Linked DNA regions of Homo sapiens: all the other regions are linked to region 1. The links are contacts of gene promoters, found by promoter capture Hi-C in human tissues and cell types (Jung and others, 2019). All regions are on one chromosome and are shown on one strand. The core of a region is centred on a gene start or on the middle of the fragment in contact, and the rest is flanking DNA. Distances in the headings are between cores, read along the strand shown.

Evidence for each region. The method cuts DNA at HindIII sites, captures the fragments that hold promoters and counts their contacts. A contact is called where the count stands out against the background at its distance.
Region 2: a contact is called between a fragment that was not itself captured here and the fragment with the promoter of BRINP1 in region 1, in 1 of the 25 tissues and cell types used here (dorsolateral prefrontal cortex).
Region 3: a fragment that was not itself captured here is called in contact with the fragment with the promoter of BRINP1 in region 1 in 1 of the 25 tissues and cell types used here (dorsolateral prefrontal cortex).

Annotation. Positions count from the first base shown.
Region 1 is chr9:119,367,402-119,371,037 of GRCh38, forward strand. It overlaps BRINP1 (BMP/retinoic acid inducible neural specific 1), which reads right to left and starts at 2,034. Exons shown (of 8, transcript NM_014618.3): 1 at 1,655-2,034. RefSeq lists enhancers at 1,433-1,954, 1,955-2,477, 2,478-2,998. The HindIII fragment of the contact is 11,628 bases long and covers 1-3,636 here.
Region 2 is chr9:118,150,985-118,154,620 of GRCh38, forward strand. All of the region lies in intron 3 of LOC105376247 (a long non-coding RNA gene), which reads left to right. Among named protein-coding and RNA genes, the nearest start is that of TLR4, 450 kb to the left of the region's middle. The HindIII fragment of the contact is 3,221 bases long and covers 13-3,233 here.
Region 3 is chr9:118,298,407-118,302,042 of GRCh38, forward strand. No RefSeq gene overlaps it. Among named protein-coding and RNA genes, the nearest start is that of LINC02578, 380 kb to the right of the region's middle. The HindIII fragment of the contact is 4,740 bases long and covers 1-3,636 here.

The DNA of each region.
Region 1 (3,636 bases), core at 784-3,283:
AACGGCTGCCGCTTACCTTGAGAAAGTAACAGCTGCCGAGTCTGGAAGCCATGCTAACAGCAGTAAAACTCAGCATTTTTGCTGAGTAGGGCAAGCCTTTAAGAGGCAGCTGGGAATCAAATCAATGGCTGGCCCCAGAGCCCAAGCCCAACAGTACCAAGCCAGGGTGGCCAAGGGACCTACCTAAAGAGCCTCCCAGGAGATGGAGGAAAGAAGAAAGAGGGCCTTGACCCAAACTACCTTCCTGGCTGAGATTCCTCCACCGCCCCCCTGCCCTTGGCAGTATTTTGGAGCCAAGTGAGAGACGCGAGGTGCAAACCGACAGCAGTTTAAGTCAATTACTGCCACATTCTGTCATGGGTTCCACACTCACAGCCCCTTTTCAAATTGTAGATCTCCCTCAGTACTGAAACACTCTCTCTCTCTGTCTCCCTCTCTCTCGCTCTTGCTCTCTCTCTCTCCCTCTCCACCTCTCTGCCTTCTCTCAATATCCCCCTAACTCCAGGGGAGCCATGGAGAGGCATATTTAGGGAGAGACTCTCTGGGGGCTTCCCCGCCTGAAATGGGGAAAGAAAGACGAATCTGTCTTAGGAAAGTGCCCCATCCATCTCCTTCCATATCATCCACAGCCGCCCCAGATGAAATTTCCTCTGAGACCCTTTGCAACTGTGATGGATGAGCAAGTCCCCGAGGACGCTTTCTCCTTTCCCCTGAGGGGGATCCATGCAAACTTGCCAGATCCTCCCCAAAACCAACAGAAGCCGGAGGGGCTCTGTTGATTGCAAACGGGGATGCAGGGTAAATCCCTATCCCAGACTTTCCAAGCCCCAGATAAGGAGCCCACCGCTGACTTCCCCCTTTCTCTGTCACCCACTATCCAGTGTCTCCAAATTCCCATCAGAATCTTGGAGTCTGCCCAGTGTAGAATTTAAAGTGACAGCGTCTCATTTGCCTCGGGGGTTGGCCATGTCTCTTTCATATTAAGCTGTGGGTCCCAGTGTAGCAGGATTCCACCGTTTGGAGGAATTTTCCTTCAAGCGTACCAACATTGGGCTAAATAAGGTGCCATCTACAGCCCCATAATCCTCCCCAAACCCCAAGCCCAGAGCCCCAAGAGGAAGTCCACAGCGGGTTTCCCGGTGACTACGTGATCCTATAGTAAGGGTCCCATTCCGTGTAAGCTGGAGAGACCTAATTAAAAAGACACACGAGGGCACACATACAAACACATACGTACAAACATGCACACACACATCGCGCCGTAAGTAGGTTATAGGACCTCTCTCTCTTCACCCCTCCCTTACACACACGGACACACACACACACCACGAACACACGCATCAAACGCAAACGACGCCGCACACGCAAACACACTAGCACCACATCAAGTTCCCACCATGGTGCACACGTCGGGAGCGCGCGGGGACACACACGCCACTCACTCAAACCCGCAATTAGCCCTTTGAGCCCCAGGCACAGGAACCCCCTCCCTAGAACTGGAGAAGACTTGGAGGCGGCGGGGCGGCCAGGTGAAGAGCGGACAAGGGTGCCGGTAGGGGGAGGGGCAGAGGAGCGCGGGGACGCCCCGAATGCGGCCCGGGGCCGGGTCCAAGGGCAGCGGGGCTGCGGGGCGCTGCACCCGGCGCCGCCTTACCTGGAGTCAATGTCCGTCTTTGGCGGAGAGCTGCGGGAGGACGCTTTTTATTCGGCTCGGTGGGAACTTGGGAGAGCCCTGCGTGCAGCTCGCATTCCGGGCACGGCGCGGGGACTGCAGGCGTGGGGGTACCTGGCTCCTAGCAGCCTGGCTCATACTCAGCCGTAAAGTCCCCTTCGCTGGTCCCGAGGACAGGCATGAATCCCGGCTCCGGAAGGCGGTCACTACTCCCTCTGCCTCCCGGCTCTCTCGCTCTCGCTCTCGCTGTTGCTCGCTCGCTCTCTCCCTCTCTCGCGGGTTCGCTCGCCTGCGCTCTCCTCCTCCCCGCGCGCCAGATCAGTTTGCAGCCGTGGGGTCCGGGAGCGAGGCGGCTGGCGAATGGAGAGGGAAGTCCAAGTGCGCCGCGGTCTCCGGGCGGGGAGCGGCGGAGGCCGGGCTACGCCGGGGGAGGGACTTAGCCGGCGACGGCCGAAAATGAATGGGGGAGCGGCGGCCGGGGGGCGGGGAGGGAGGAGCTGAACGCCGGGGTTGCTTCCGAGGAGTGTTTTGTACATCTTTAGGCGGAGGAGGAGGAGAAGCGAGAGGAGGAGAGACGGGAGGCCGCCTCGAGGGAAGGGCGGCCCGGGTGGGCTGGGGCTGAGCCGTAGGGAGTTTCGTGGGTCTGGGGCGTGTAGGGTGTTGTGTCTATGCGCACGAGCATCCAAAGGGACCGCGCATACGCGCAAACCCGGAATCCTGGTGCCCTTAAGCGTGACTGTACTGTGTGTGTCGCGAGTACCTGAGTGTTTCTGGGGCGGCAGGTGTTTCCACGGCCGCGTGGATCCATCGAGTGTGGGTTTTGTCTCGGGAGTTGCCCGTGTGGGTCCGTTTGTGTCTGCGCGTCTCTCTGTGAGTGTTTGACACTGTTTGTTTCTCTCGGTGTGTAGGCGAGAGCCCACGTAACCTCCCAGAATGAAGCAAGAGCTTCTCTACGTAGGCAGGATGTAGGAGGGAGAAGCTGAGGGGACACGAAGTTCTCTGGAGACCACCAGAGGCGGGGAAGGGGCGAGGGTACAGGGACTAAGACATGAAAATAAAAAGCAAAATACTCTGCAATCAGCCTGAATGCAGGCTGGGGCTGCTAACATAGGGCCTCTTCCTGAAGCAGAAAATAAAGCCCTCGTATGATAATTCCCACACAGCGCACATTTGGTATGTTTGTTTACTTTGCTTCCCTTCTGATTTAAACCAAATCAGCAATGCAGATCCCTAGTCCCCTGAAGATTAGGCAAGAATAGAAAGCATTAAGGCTACCAGATGGAGGGGCAGGAAGTCATAGGAAAAGGTGTTGGAATATGTAAAAGAGCCAGATTCAGTAGAAGTGCAGGCTCCAGAGAGGTTGGAGTCCTGTAGCTGTCTGGTCTTGGTGAAATCACTTACCCCTTAAGCCTCAATTCCTTGTCTGTTTAATAGAATAATAATATATCTACCCATCTAATAGGGTTGATGTGGAATTGTAATGAGTTAATATATGCAAAGGCACTTAGACTGCTCATGAGTTAATGTATGCAAAGGCACTTAGACTGCTCCCTGACACCTAGTGAGTGCTCAGTGCATGTTGTCTGCTTTTATGATTGCCATTGTATGTTTTTTGTTTGTTTTTTAATTCAAAGGATGATAAGAGAGAGATGTGACCACCAGGGAGGCCTAGAACAATCTAGGAGCCAGTGAACTAATTGGAGGAAGAGGAGTCTTGAAACAAAATGGAAGAGAAATGTTTGAGTGATGAACTGGGAACTCGGGAAAAATTATTTAATCGACAAAGAGAAAGGGAGAAAGAGAGGAGAAGACATCGAGCTAGCCAGAATGATCCTGGGTCTCAGAAGGTCAGGACTGAGGGGAGAGGAAAGGGAGAGGAGGAGCAGCCAGTGCAGAGCTTCTCAGCCTTCACTGGAATCCCAATGAGGAGGAGTCAGCACCACGGACAGCTCTCCAGCCACAAA
Region 2 (3,636 bases), core at 373-2,872, 1.2 Mb before region 1:
GTTCTATAGTTGTCTTGGTATCATCTGGGCAGTTCTAAACTGGTTCTTTCATGTTATGGCAGTCAGATATTGGCTGGGACTACAATCATTGAAGGCTTGACTCAGCTGGCATCCAAGATGGCTCATGAACATGACTGGCAATTAGTGCTGGTTTGGGGCTGGGAAATCACCAGGGTTGTCAACTAAAACTCCTGCATGTGGCTTGTTTAGGTGACTTGGACATTTCAATCATGATAGCTGGAGTGCTTGACAGAGGATTACACAAGACACAAGGAGAAGCTTTAGGTCTTATTATGGCTTACTCTTGAAAGCCCAAGGATGTATTTTTCACTGCATTCCACTAGTAAAGAAAGTTGTTAAGACCAGCTCAGGCTTAAGGGGTGGATAATTTGACACAAGGCACAACATGCTTGCACAAGAAGAAAAGGAATGCACAGTGGCCATCCTTGGAGTCTTATATGTTATATGCAATTTATAAAATACAATCCTTTTCCTTGGTAAGATTATCATATGTAAGAGCTTTACAAGCTTTCATGAAAATAATCTACTTACGGGGGCAGGGATTGAAGCTGGGCAGAGCATGGTGGTTGATATGCTTTTGTGTAGGTCAAGATGGGTGAGATTATGTGTGAAAGTATACCAGCCCCAAACCACAGTCTTAACACAATAAATTTACTTTTTGTTTACACTCTGTGTACAAAATTGTTGAAATGGGAATCTGCTTATTATAATCACTCAGGGATTTAAACAGATGAAGTTTCATCTCATTAGACTGTACCTTTTGAACATTTTCAGTATCAGCAGAGCAGAAGAAGAAAACGCAGGACATTATATTCTTAATTATAAAGCTTCCATCTGGGAGTGAAAAACATCATTTTTCTTACCTCCCATTGGCCAATGCAAACCATATGGCCCTGTCTAAATTCCTGCTATGTGCCCATAAGGTATGTCAGAATATTTGAAATAGCTCTAATACCTCCACACCATGTTATCTGAATTCTTATATATTAGGACCAGATTGAATTTAGATAAAGCAGGGAAACTGAAAATCATCTTTATCTTCTGGGTCTCATATTTCTTTCAATGTACATTAATTTTCAAAGGCCATTACATTTGCTGAGTGTAATAGGCACAATTATTATATTTATATTTGATATCACATACAATTTACAGCTGGGTAAGTTCATATATAGTTACGTAAATTGATGTCTATAAGTTATATGTGGAGTTTTCACATACCTATAATTTCTGATTTTTTTTTTTCACTTCAATTTAGGTAGAGGGGTTAATATTTGTTCTGGTTTGTCAATCTAAAAGTAGAGTCAAAAAATAAAATGATTGGCTTTAGATTATATCGCACAGTTCTTTGACCCTCAAACAAGACATTTACTTCTGTACCAGGGATCCTGTACTTGTACTTGGAGTCTTAGTGAGGGTTCAAATTATCCATGAAGCCTGTAAACTTGCCGCATTGTGTATGTGAGTGTGAGTGTGTGTGTGCATGTGTGTGTGCTAGGTCTGTGTGTGTGTTCTTTTTTGAGTGGCTTAGGTTCACTATACCACAGCATTGTTGCAAACAATTAATAGGTAAATGGACATTTGAGACTGAGATGCCATTAATTCATCTGATTTCTACACATATAGTAGGTCTTAACATCAAAAGGTTGATGAATTGTTTAAAGAAAAACATGATGGGGCTTCCTAGACCTCCTCATTTAACAGATTTCATACTTGGGCTTCTTGCTGAGCCTTTTCTTCTGCCTCTTGCCATTGATTGTAAAAATCGAAGCTTCCTTCACGGGAAGCACTGAACAAGACATTCCATGTTTTCAGTGTAAAGTCCATCATTTCCAGCGTGGCTCACATCTCAGTGGGTGACAAAACTTCCTGATGTCCTGGAAAAGCTCTGCAAGTACTCAGGCCCTTGCCCACTTATTTCAGATCACTGGTTTGTTACCATTAAGTAAGCATTTTTATTTTAAATCTCTATTTACATTTATCAGGGCCCTTTCAGCTCAATTTGCAAAATGATGATTTGTATATATCTAAAACAGTACATCATGGGGTTCAGGTCATTTGCATTCCACAGTCATTTACTGAATACGTACTTTTTGCAATACAGCCATACAAGAAGTCACAAGCATAAGGCACGGGTCATGTCAGTCTTGCATATATGAAATCTAAACATCAGTATACATAAGCAAATATGGTATAGAGGAGTCAAACTGGCCTGGTTTGAATATCTTTTTCTGCTAGCTCTATGACTTAACTTTCTTGAGTTTCAGTGATTTCAACTATAAAGATGAGGCAACTGAGACCTATTAGAGAGTTATTTTGAAGATATAATGTAAAATGTCACATCAAATTGGGGGTAACACAGGTAAAAATACACAAATTAGGGGACGTGCATGACCTATTCAGGGAATAAATTTTGAGTATAAAATATAGGGAAGTTATAAGCAAAAGTGAGGCCAGAGAGAGAAACCAGGATCTTAAATCTCAAACTCACCCATTTGGACTTCATCCTGAAGTTAAAGAAAAGCCAATAAAAGGTTGAGAAAAGATTAAAAAGAATATAATCAACTTTTAAAAAACTTTTTATATAAAAACAATTTAATATTTGATAAGAAGTTTCAAAACTTATATTTTCAACATCCTTCATGCAGCTTACATCTTACATAACTATAGTACAATGCCAAATCGAAGAAATCAGCATTGATGTGATACTATTAAACCACAGATCTTACTCAGGTTTCACTAGGTTTTTTAAACATTTAATTAATTACTTAATTTTAAGTTTACAACTTAAAATTATATATATTTATCAAGTACAACGTGATGCTTTGAAATATGTACGCATTGTAGAATGGCTCAGTTGAGTAAATTGAACATATGTATTATTTCACACTTAACATTTCTTGTGGTGAGAACACTTAAAATCTACTGTATTAATGATTTTCAAAATATAATACATTGCTATTAAATATAGTCACTGTGTTGTACAGTAGATCTCTTGAATTTATTCCTCCTATCTAACTGAAATTGTGTGTCCTTCGGCTAGTATCTTTTCAACCCTGCTCTACTCCCACCCCAGCCCCTTGTAAGCATCATTCTACTCTCTGCTTCTGAGTTCAACTTTTTAGATTCCATGTATAGGTGAGATCACACAGTATATGTCTTTCTGTGTCTGGTGTATGTCATTTAACATAATAAAGCCTGTCACTTGTGACAACATGGATGAACTTGTTGGACTTTATGTTAAGTGAAATAAAGTTTCACTGATTTTTACATGCAATTTATTTTTGGTGTATAATATAATGCAATGTTATTTCATGTATAGTTGTTCTAACCACTAACACAATCAAGATACATAACTGTTCCATCACTACAGAGAAAATTCCTGCTGTTATTTCTTTATAGTCACACTCTCCACTCTCCCATAGCCCTAACTCCTGGCAACCACTGAACTCTTCTGTACCCCTAAAATTTTGTCATTTTGAAAGTGTTATACGAGTAGACTCATACAATATGTAACATTTCAGGATGCTTTTTTTTCACTTAGCATAAAGCCTCTGAGATCTACGTATTAGATGGGATGAGTGCTGTTCCATTTTGTGGATGTGCCAGAGATTGTTT
Region 3 (3,636 bases), core at 763-3,262, 1.1 Mb before region 1:
GCATAGTTCATAGACCATTGTAGAGAGCCACTACATTGTAGCTATTAATATTATTGAAGGATATTCCCTTCCTTCAAAGATGTACACTTCACCAGGGAGATAGCAATGACACAGATGCAACACTGTATGGTTTAATCCAATTCGATATGTCCCACAGCCTAAAACATTCATTTTTTGGCACAAAGCGGCTGCTCAAATAAGAAAGGATGAAATGAATAAATAAGTCAATGAAATGATCAACATATGAATTATATTTGTCTAGCCCATTGGAGATCTCAGCCTTGCAAACATACACCTTGCCCCCCAAGGGGTGGAGTTATTTATTGTTTGCATATGACAGCACTTTGCCAAATGAACAAAAATCTGAGCTGGCTTCATTAAGAGGGATGGATATAAAGTAGGTACATGTCTGTGCTGAGCCACTGAAAGTAAAATGGGATAATTGCAGTGGTTACAATGAGGCTGATCAAGCTGAGAGAAACAAGTTTCAAATCGTTCCAATCAGTCCTAATCCAGCAGAGTTATTAACAGTGTTCTACCCTGGTGCGACTGCATCTGCTAACGTGAGATAATGATTTATATCACAGTTTATGAAAGTTCCAATTTGTCCTAATTCAATAAGTGAAACCCAGCAAGGCAGGCAGGAGACAGACATTGCACTATGGCTGGAATTCCCATTTCTTTCTCCTCTCTGCACCACCCACAGACTGTCATGGCTGATGTGCATCTGCTTGCCAGGCACCTTTTGTTGTAGTCTTAAGCTGAGGGAGACAGAGCAGGAAGTTGGAGTAAAAGTTCTCAATCACACCCTAGGTCTGAAAGATCCAGCAGGAAAGGATGTTTTGAGCAAAGATGACATGGTGGTATCATACAATTAGATGTGTCATGGAGATTTCTGAGTCTAGGAGTTCTTAATGTGGAAATCTTGAGACCTTAGGTTAGAAAGCAGTGATTCTATGAATGCTGCAAAAGTGTGTATTTATGTGTTTGCATGTGTTTGTGCAATTTTCCTTCCTCAGGAGAAAGTTCAGAGCTTTCATTAGACCTCAAATTGTTCTTGTGACCCAACAAAATTATGAACGATTGACAGGTCTAATCCACTCACTATCAAAATGAGAAAGCAGAAAGAAGGTCATTAAGATAATTTCCCTAAATCACTACTAGAGAAAGAACTGGGGATAGATTACAAGAATCCTAAAGCCAGCCAGGAAATAATTTATATGTTTGACCACAGAAAAAAACATGTGGCTTCAGCCAAGTATGGTTTCTTGGACACTGTTTTTTCTCTATCCCTTCCTCCTCCTGTCCTATTGGCAATGCTGCTCCCATTTAGACAGCCAGCTGTGTGTCTCCTTCATATCCAGAGGTATCCTCAAAAAAAAAAAAAAAAAAGGCTATTGATAGCCATAGAGACATAGAGATCACATGATGCCATAGAAAGAACAGTGCTAGCTCCAGCTTCTGGTAGACTGTCAGGCACAGAATTACACAAAATGCATATTTATTGAATGAATGAATGAATGAATGAATGAGCTGAAGGGCAGGAAAGATTGTGTACTTCTTCAACACTCTTTTTGATAATCTGAAAAATGAGATTTGTTTTCAGAATGTCTCAGCTTCCTTTGCTTTAACATTTGATGACCGTGACAGTCATTTACTTGTGACCTCATTTCCCACTATGAATTAGAGGCCTTTTTTCAAGAGATTCCATGCATCTGTGCTTAGATTGAGGATGGGAGAACTGTATATCCCCCTAACTCAAGACGGCAGCTACCTTTTCAGCTTAGCTATAACTAGCGCTCTCTGACCCTCAGTCCAAGGCAAGCAAGCTCAATATGCCAATACTGATTAACTTGTCTCATTATTAAAGTAAATAAATAAAAATGCTTGAGCGTCCTTCCTAACCAGAGCAGATTCAAGGCTCTGAAGATACAAAAGTAAATTTAAAAGGGATCCTTCCTTAAGGGATCTCACAATCTGTGCGAAGACTGATATATACCCTGCAGGCAAGGACTCAATCCTTGACTGCAGTGTACATATTTGGATTGATAAATACTGAAGTCACAGATTGAGCAGAGTGTTCAAATCATATGGAGAAAAGAGCTATGAGTCATTCTGGGTGCAGCAATGAAGGTGAAAGAAAAGCATTAACTCAGTCTTGAGGATAAATAAGTGTGAACTTACCAGAGAAGTTAAAAGGAAAATCCACAAAACTAAGATGGCCCAAGCCAAAGCATGACATTCTGAAGGCGCATTACATATTTCTGGAGTGGTGAATACTCTGGTATGAGCCTAGGATGGTGCTTGATATTTAAAGAGAGCTCAATAAATATTTCTTGAATTAGTGAGTGAATCAATAGCTAAATAATTATAATTATTAACAGTGATAGCTAGATTTATTAGATTATTATTTAGTGTCGAATTCAATATTAAGCACTTTTCATATATTGTATCACTTAATTTCCACAACAACCATAGAAGACAAGCATTGTTATTTTTTCCATTTTGTACATGAGTTTCCTAAAGCTCTGGGAGGCAGAGGAACTTTTCCAATGTCACATGGCCAGTATCAGTATCAGAATTTGGCTACAACATGACTGCATGACTTTAAATTATATGCACTTAAATTGTTTCACCTAAAGTATACAGTGTGTTGGAAAAGAGGATGGAATAAGAAATGTCTGGAAAAATACATTATGGTCATATTGTGAAGGAAGTTGAATGCAGTATTATGAAATTTGCGTTTCACCCTGTTATGAAGGGAAAGCTGTATAGAGTTTTCTAACCATCGGTAATGCAGGCCCTAAGTTGTGTTTTAGAAAGACAGTTGGAGGGTTGTGAGTCATAGGCTAAAAAGGCAAGAGTCTATATGGTGCAGAACCACTTGGGAGATATATAAATAAATCATCTTCTCCATATTATCCTGTAGCCTGCTTTTATTTTGATAAATAGTATAGCATGCATATGGTTCCACATCAGTACATCTTCATCTGCTTAAATTATCATTACTTAGAAAAAAAAATTTCACTATGAACAAATGTAAATGTAAAAAGCATGGAAAATAAAATCCTAACCCTGTGCCCCTATCATGTGCTTTTCATAATTATCAAGCCATAATTTTTGGATAAAATTATCAAATTTTATTGTCTATAACCCCCCACTGTCCATCCTACTTTGAAGCAAATTTTGAAGCAAATTCCATTCTTGACATTATATTTATTTACTCATAAATATTTCTATATTTCTTTCTTTCTTTTTTTGGTAGAGCTTGGGTCTTGTTATGTTGCCCAGGCTGATCTTGAACTCCTGGCCTCAAAGAATCCTCCCACCTCAGCCTCCAAAGTGCTGGGATTACAGATATAAGCCACCACTCCCAGACAATATATTTCTTTAAAAACCCCTTATCTTATATCCTCAATCTTGATTTTCTAAAATAGGATTCCTGAACCTATAACTCAGGCCAAATCCTGCCTTCTCCATCTTTGTCTGCCATTATACCTAACAACAGTTTGGGCATCTTTGCATTTGACATAAATGAATTAAAAACAAGAATACTATTTCACGACCAGTGAAAATTATATGAAATTCAAATTTCAATGTCTATTAATGTCTATTGTATTTCACCCAAACCACTAT